2 separate regions of the Homo sapiens genome follow, and region 2 is linked to region 1. The links are contacts of gene promoters, found by promoter capture Hi-C in blood cells and fetal thymus (Javierre and others, 2016). All regions are on one chromosome and are shown on one strand. Each heading gives the region's core, a stretch centred on a gene start or on the middle of the fragment in contact. The rest is flanking DNA. Distances are from core to core; before and after follow the strand shown.

Evidence for each region. The method cuts DNA at HindIII sites, captures the fragments that hold promoters and counts their contacts. A CHiCAGO score of 5 or more calls a contact.
Region 2: the fragment with the promoter of EPN3 here is called in contact with a fragment that was not itself captured in region 1 in 7 of 17 cell types (endothelial precursors, M1 macrophages, megakaryocytes and 4 more); the score reaches 14.7 in endothelial precursors.

The regions. Positions count from the first base shown.
Region 1 is chr17:50,701,488-50,704,935 of GRCh38, reverse strand. The region is part of intron 1 of ANKRD40 (ankyrin repeat domain 40); the gene reads left to right. Among named protein-coding and RNA genes, the nearest start is that of ANKRD40, 4.7 kb to the left of the region's middle. The HindIII fragment of the contact is 889 bases long and covers 1,059-1,947 here.
Region 2 is chr17:50,531,144-50,534,330 of GRCh38, reverse strand. EPN3 (epsin 3) reads right to left here and starts at 1,596. Exons shown (of 10, transcript NM_017957.3): 1 at 1,346-1,596. MYCBPAP (MYCBP associated protein) reads right to left here. Exons shown (of 19, transcript NM_032133.6): 19 at 2,830-3,004. The coding sequence ends at 2,903. RefSeq lists enhancers at 1-53, 54-730. The HindIII fragment of the contact is 5,271 bases long and covers 1,343-3,187 here.

The DNA of each region.
Region 1 (3,448 bases), core at 254-2,753:
TCACCGTGTTAGCCAGGATGGTCTCGATCTCCTGACCTTGTGATCCGCCTGACTCTGCCTCCCAAAGTTCTGGGATTACAGGCGTGAGCCACCGTGCCCGGCCAGCTCAGATAGGGTTCTAAGTGTTTTACATGTGTTAGCTTGTTCACAACTACCTGGGGACATAGTTACTGTTCTCTCCATTTACAGATGAAGAAACTGAGGCCCAGAAACCGTAAGTTGTTTCCTCACTTTTCACAGTGCCCCTTCCCAAGGTCATAGGATTGACAGTAACTAGTGGAGCCAGAAAACAAACCTGGTATCTGATGCCAGACCTACCCTCCTAAACACAATGTCTGCCCCATAGGAGGTGTTTAGTGAAGTGATTCTGAGGTAGCCTGAAGAGGCTTCTTATAGGTTTTTTTTTTTTTTTTTTTTTTTGAGATGGAGTTTCACTCTTGTCACCCAGGCTGGAGTGCAATGCGTGATCTCAGCTCACTGCATCCTCCACCTCCTGGGTTCAAGCGATTCTCCTGCCTCATCCTCCCAAGTAACTAGGATTACAGGTGTGTGCCACCACGCCTGGCTAGTTTTTTGTATTTTTAGTAGAAATGGGGTTTCACCATGTTAGCCAAGCTGGTCTCGAACTCCTGACCTCAGGTGATCTGCCCGCCTCGGCCTCCCAAAGTGCTGGGATTATAGGCGTGAGCCACCGCGCCCGGCCTCTTGTAGATTTAATTGGAGGAACTGTCTAATAGGCCCCTCAAACTCAACATGTCCAAGATTGAATTCCAAGTCTCCCCTCATCCCTCTACCACCTCAAGCCTGCTCCTCTGAGTCCTCAGCCTCTCAGGAGTGCTCAGGCCAGAACCCTTGGCACCCTGCTTGCCTCCTGCTTGCCTCCTGTCTTTCATAGCCGACATCCAGTCAGCCAATTCTATGAGCTCCACCTTCAGATACAGTCAGAATCTGACTACTTCTCACTAACCCTACCACTACACCTCTGATACAAAGCCACCATTGTTTCTCTTGCTTGGATTATTACAATAGCCTCCTACTAGTGTCCTTGCTCCTAAGCTTATATCATACAGTCTTCTTAATTAACACAGTGGTCAGAGGGATCCTGACTTAAAACATAAGTCAGATCATTTCACTCTGCTCAAAAATGGCTCCTATCTCACTCAGTAAAAGCCTACAGGGTCCTACAATTTCTACTTCCTGTCCCCACATCTTCCCTCCTTACCTCTGTGCTAATCTCATGGGATTTGCCCTTCTGCTTACCTTTTTCCCCTGGCCTCCTTGCTTTCTCTGGAATACCAGACAGTCCTGATTCAAGATCTTTGCGTTTTGTCTTCCCACTCTCTTAAATGCTTTCCCTCCAGATATCACATGGTTTGCTTCCTCACCACCTTCAGATTTTAGTTTAGATGTCACCTTCTTGGCAAGGCTTTTCCTGGGCCCTCAATTTAAAGTTGCACAATGCCCCTTTCCAACCTCTGTCATTCCCTAATGCCTTTCCCTGCTTTACTATTGCTGTCATACTTCATCACCACCTAGCGTACTGCGTGCTTTGCTTATTTATTTGCTGATGTCTGTTTCCTCTTCTGTAAAATGGGGGGAATGTTGACAGTAGTATTACCTCATGGGTTTAGAGGATTAAATAAGTTAATACATGTAATGCCTTTAGAACAATGTCCAACACGTAAAGCATTATACCTGTATTAGCCATTGTTGTTGTTTTCTTATTATGAAGCAATATGCTAGATAATGGAATATAAGGTTACCCTCAAAAAAACGTACTCTCTTGCATTTGCAAAGCAGAATGGTGACTGCTTTCAAGTCTTAGTTGCTCAGTAATCACAATTTCAGCACCAATGAGTGATGCCCTGTTGATGAATGACACCCAGTGCCTCAGGTCTGAAATAGTTTCTGACACTAATAAGATATTTTGACTGCAAATGTAAAGCTTAAGGAGTTGAAGTTCAAAGATAGAGTAATCTATCAATTAGATTGATCACTAATCATTCCCCCACATCAGTTGTAATTCAAGTGTCATGCATAACCCTTGGTTCATGAAGAACTTGAAAATATTACCTGGCTGCAGGGGCTCTGAGTTATGGCTGCCCAGAGCCGCACAGCTCTGGACGGTAAATGATGATCACTAAGGCACAGGGCTGTGGGGGCCACGCTATGTTGACTTAACCCTGCTTTACATGGGTGGTAGTTTAGCAAGTTGGTTTGTCCCAGAGTCTCTCAGACCCACTGGTAGTAAATTACCTCCTTTACTCTCAAGCTTGCCACGAACAAGTGATCTACTACTAGCAAGTGAGCATTTTATTTCCAAAAGGGAGCATATTTTTCTCATCATGCTTCATTCATTTTTGAGGGCTCACTTATCATTATAATTGTTCACTTTTTAAGCCTGTGCCACAGACATCCACACACAAACACACTCAAGGTTCCAGTTTGCCCAGAATCAAGGGTAGATTGGATCCTTCTACTTCAAGCAAGGTCCACTTTATCCTTAGTTTACTCATTTGGTACTTTTTTTTTTTTTGAGATGGAGTCTTGCTGTGTTGCCCAGGCTGAAGTGCAGTGGCACAATCTTGGCTCGCTGCAACCTCCACCTCCTGGGTTCAAGCAATTCTCCTGCCTCAGCCTCCCCAGTAGCTGGGATTACAGACATGCACCATCACACTAATTTTTGTATTTTTAGTAGAGATGGGGTTTCACCCTATTGGGCAGGCTGGTCTCAAACTCCCGACCTAAAGTGATCCACCTGCCTTGGCCTCCCTAAGTGCTGGGATTACAGGTGTGAGCCACCGTGCCTGGCCCATTCAGTAAATATTAATTAATACATGCCAAGCAAACACTTCCTTGCCTTCAGGGAGCTTGATCAAGACTCTTCTCTCCCAAACTTAACGAGACTCTTATTTTTCCCAAATTAGCAATAATTTTGTCATTGCATCATGGAATACACCTTAAAGGAACCTGGATAATCTAATTCTAATGAACCATAATGTAGAATGTCACTCTGAGACATCAATGGAATTGCTCCCAGCCAGCCAGACATGCTAACTTTCTGTAAGTTACTAATGTTAAGCCCAGGGCAAATCAGCTTTTTCCTGGAATCATATAAACTTTCCAAATAATTATACTTCCCAGGTTAGTGAACTAACCTTCAATATTGAACATTTGTTCTAATCTTCATTTCTGTATTTGGCTATAAGAGCTCTGAAGATATGTATCTCAGTTCAGTTAGAGAGTTGGTGAAAGAAGACCTTTCAAAACACAGGCGAAAAGTATTTTCCTTCCATAATATACAGTCAGCTCTGGCACCTAGGGATGGATTTAGTTGCTCTGAATCTTTCATTTCTGTTAAGATGGAGTTTTTGCTGGCATGCTAATTATGTTTCTGTACAGTATTAAAATAGTAGCCCTTCAGAGTGTGCAGAATTGCTTCCTCTGT
Region 2 (3,187 bases), core at 347-2,846, 170 kb after region 1:
CTCGGTGTGGGCCCAGCGGCCCTGCCTGGACCTTTCTCACAGAAGGTGGGCATTCTCTGCACACCCCTGCAGGGGCTGGGGGGAAGGGCGGGGCCAGAAACATGGGGAGGCACCTTGATTTTCCTTCTCTGGAGTTTGAGGGGACAAGGTGAGGCTGCCCAAGCACAGAGAAGGGAGGAGGAAAGGAAGAAGCCTGCCCAAGCGCAGAGAAGGGAGGAGGAAAGGAAGAAGCCTGCCCAAGCGCAGAGAAGGGAGGAGGAAAGGAAGGAACGCGGGAACGCGGGAGGGAGCAGCTGGGAGCGCTGCCAGCAGTGTTACAAGCAAAGGGTTTTATCGAACACGATATGCCCAGAAATAAAAGGGAGTGTAACAGAAACCCAGCGGCCGATAAGGCGGTGGCGGTAGCAGCAGCAGCCCTGGGCAGCTGGGTATGGAATTACTGCAGTGACCTTGAGCCAGACCCTGTCAGGTGGAGGGAAGGGCACAGAGAGGGCAGGGCCTGAGAATTCAGAGATGACGAGAGGGCAGAGGAGGGAGGAAGCTGAGGGGATGGGAGCAGGGCCAGCAGGCGGTGGGATGGGCCACGGGGCACGGAGTATCAGCTCTCTCCTGCATACAGGGTCCCAAGGAGAACTGCGCAGTAGGGAGGGGCTGCTCTTCTCAGGGCCTGCAGGATGGGGGGATCTGGAGAGTTTCCCAAAAGTCAGGACCGAAAAATGCAGATCGCTCATCCCCAGCAAGGGTTTCGGAGAGATGGAGAGAACCCAGATCTGTCCAGTCACACGTGCATGAGTTTGCGTAAAGTCTGTGCACCCACCAGCCCAGCCCACACCCTCTTCCCGTCCTCTGCTAAGGTGGGCTCCAGCCCCTGCCTCCAAGTCAGATCCAGCCTGAGCAGTGGGGAATGACAGTGCCCTTCTTGATGCTGTAAGGGACAGGGGGTGAGCTTGAACTCTAAGCTTCTGGCCACTGTAATAGCTGCATCCCGGGAGCACAGAAGATGGGGGAGGGGGGACTGCCCTGAGGCTAGAGGTGTGCATGAGGGGCTGAAGAAGAGGAAACAGCAGAGATGTGCAGAAGGAGTCTGTGGGGAATGCCACCAAAGATGCTAAGATGCCACCAAAGATGCTAAGTCCCAGGATGGTTGGGGAGGGGGCCCTGAGTCCCTTTTTGGGGGCGGCAGGGAGGGAGGGGTGGCAGGAAAGAAGCCTTTAGGTCCTCTACAGCTCAGCCTTCTCCCTCGCACCTGGAAAAGAGACTAAGCCCCAGAACCACTGTTTGCTCCCCACCAACCCCCGCCTTCCATGCCGCCACTGCCAGGGAGGGGGCCAGGGAGGAAGCTTACCTCCAGTGCGGGCTCCCTCGGCCCCAGCCCCAGCCCGAGTAGCCTCTGCGGTGACCCTCCGACCTGTGCAGCAGCGGGACGGCACAGCCTCGGGAGCGTCTCCAGAGCCATCCACCATGGACCCTCGTCCCAGAGACCCACCTGCTCCCAGGAGGTGCAGACCCCTCAGAGGGGCAGCGGCAGGGTCCCTGGAATGGGTAGCAGCTCTTCCCGCGTGCGTTTGCCTCCTAGCCAGCGCCAGGCAGCACTCCGAGGAAAGTTGCTCAGCTGGCCCGGCAGGTCTGCCTCAGCAGTAACAGGACACAGGAGGAAGTGCAGGGCAGGTTAACCCCTTCCTGCTGGCCAGGCAAGTGGTGCATTGAGAGGTGGGGGGCCTGCCTGTTGGCCGCCCCCAGGAAGTGCACATCTGGAGCCAGTGCTGGCGACCTGATCCCCTCTGCTTTGAGTTAACCCTTCCCCTGCCTCTTCAACAGGAAAGGAGGGGGGCTCCAACACCCCCACCACACCCCTCCCCTTCCTCCTCTGGGCCGGGAGGACATTAAAGGAGAGGGCAGGGACATTCCCTGGGGCTGGCTCTTTGGTGGAGCCCCCGTCTTCTCGTCTTCTTGGGGAGGAGAGCATCAGGACTCCAGCACAGCCCCCTCCCTGCCTTTCCCACACGGAGTCAGATCCTTCTGTCCATCCTCCCCCTCCTGCATCTCAGCTGGAGGATGCCTGAGGCCCACTTAAGGATGCCCACCCACCCAAAAACCAAAGTTGTTCTTCAAACTCTGGGAGCCTGGAGTGCTCTTCACACAGGGAGCCCAGCCCCAAATGGTTATGACTGACAGAAGACAATGAGGGGCCTGAGTTTGAGCTGACAATACCTTTTTTTCTGAGAGCCATTTCTAGCCTGTTTCATGTTCCCCTGAGCAAGGGAGGTAGCATGAAGATCAGCAGCTGTTTTTAAGGCAGAAAGATGGCTCAAGGCCAGATAGTTTGAGATGAGGAGGGGGATAAGGCAGACTAGACCCCGAAATAACAAGGTGATGTGGCCTCTAGAGCTGAAGAGGTGTGGTGAGCATGATCTTCAGGGACTGAATTGGGGCCCTGGGACCCAGCTGAAGAGGGGAGATGGCAGGGAGCCAGGTCCCATGGGTCTAGTTCTACTCCTCATCTCACACTTTGTCATACTTGGTGATGACACTTCGGGAAGACCTGGCTCCAGGAAGCACGACCCTGAAAGTGTGGGCCAAGGAAGCCAGAGGCAGGGACTACCAGAGGTGACACACTGTCCTGTCACCTGACTCCTTGTCTTGCTACCAATCTGCTCCTCTGCTTGGCATCCCACACATCACTTCCCCAGCTATGTCTGTCTGTCCTCCTGCAGGAGGGCTCTGGCAGCTGGCAGGAGGGGATCTGAGGGCAGGTGGAACATGGGAGGACCTGGATCAGGAGCTGACCTAGCCAAGATCCATCATGCAAGACACAGAGGCACACGGAAGTAGTAGAAACTTGAAGGTTCTTTATTGATTTATTTATTAACCCGTTTTCCAGAAGGTTGCTTGGGCCCGAGAGTCACCTGCAGAGGCGCAAAGCCTCCTCGACATTCTTTATGGGGCTGAGCTCATCAGCCAGGACCATCAGGTCAGTCACCAGGGTGTCCAGCAGCCCACGGACCTGGAAGAACGGGACAACATCACAGGCAGAGTTTACTCTGTGGGAAGCACCTATATATGAACTATGCTGTGAGAGAATAGCTGGAGAGGGGAAAGAAACCAGTTGTTTGTGAAAGAATTTCACAAGTTCAAAGTTCTTGTGAAATAATTTTTGGTTTTGCAGATTTTTTTTTTTTTTGACAGG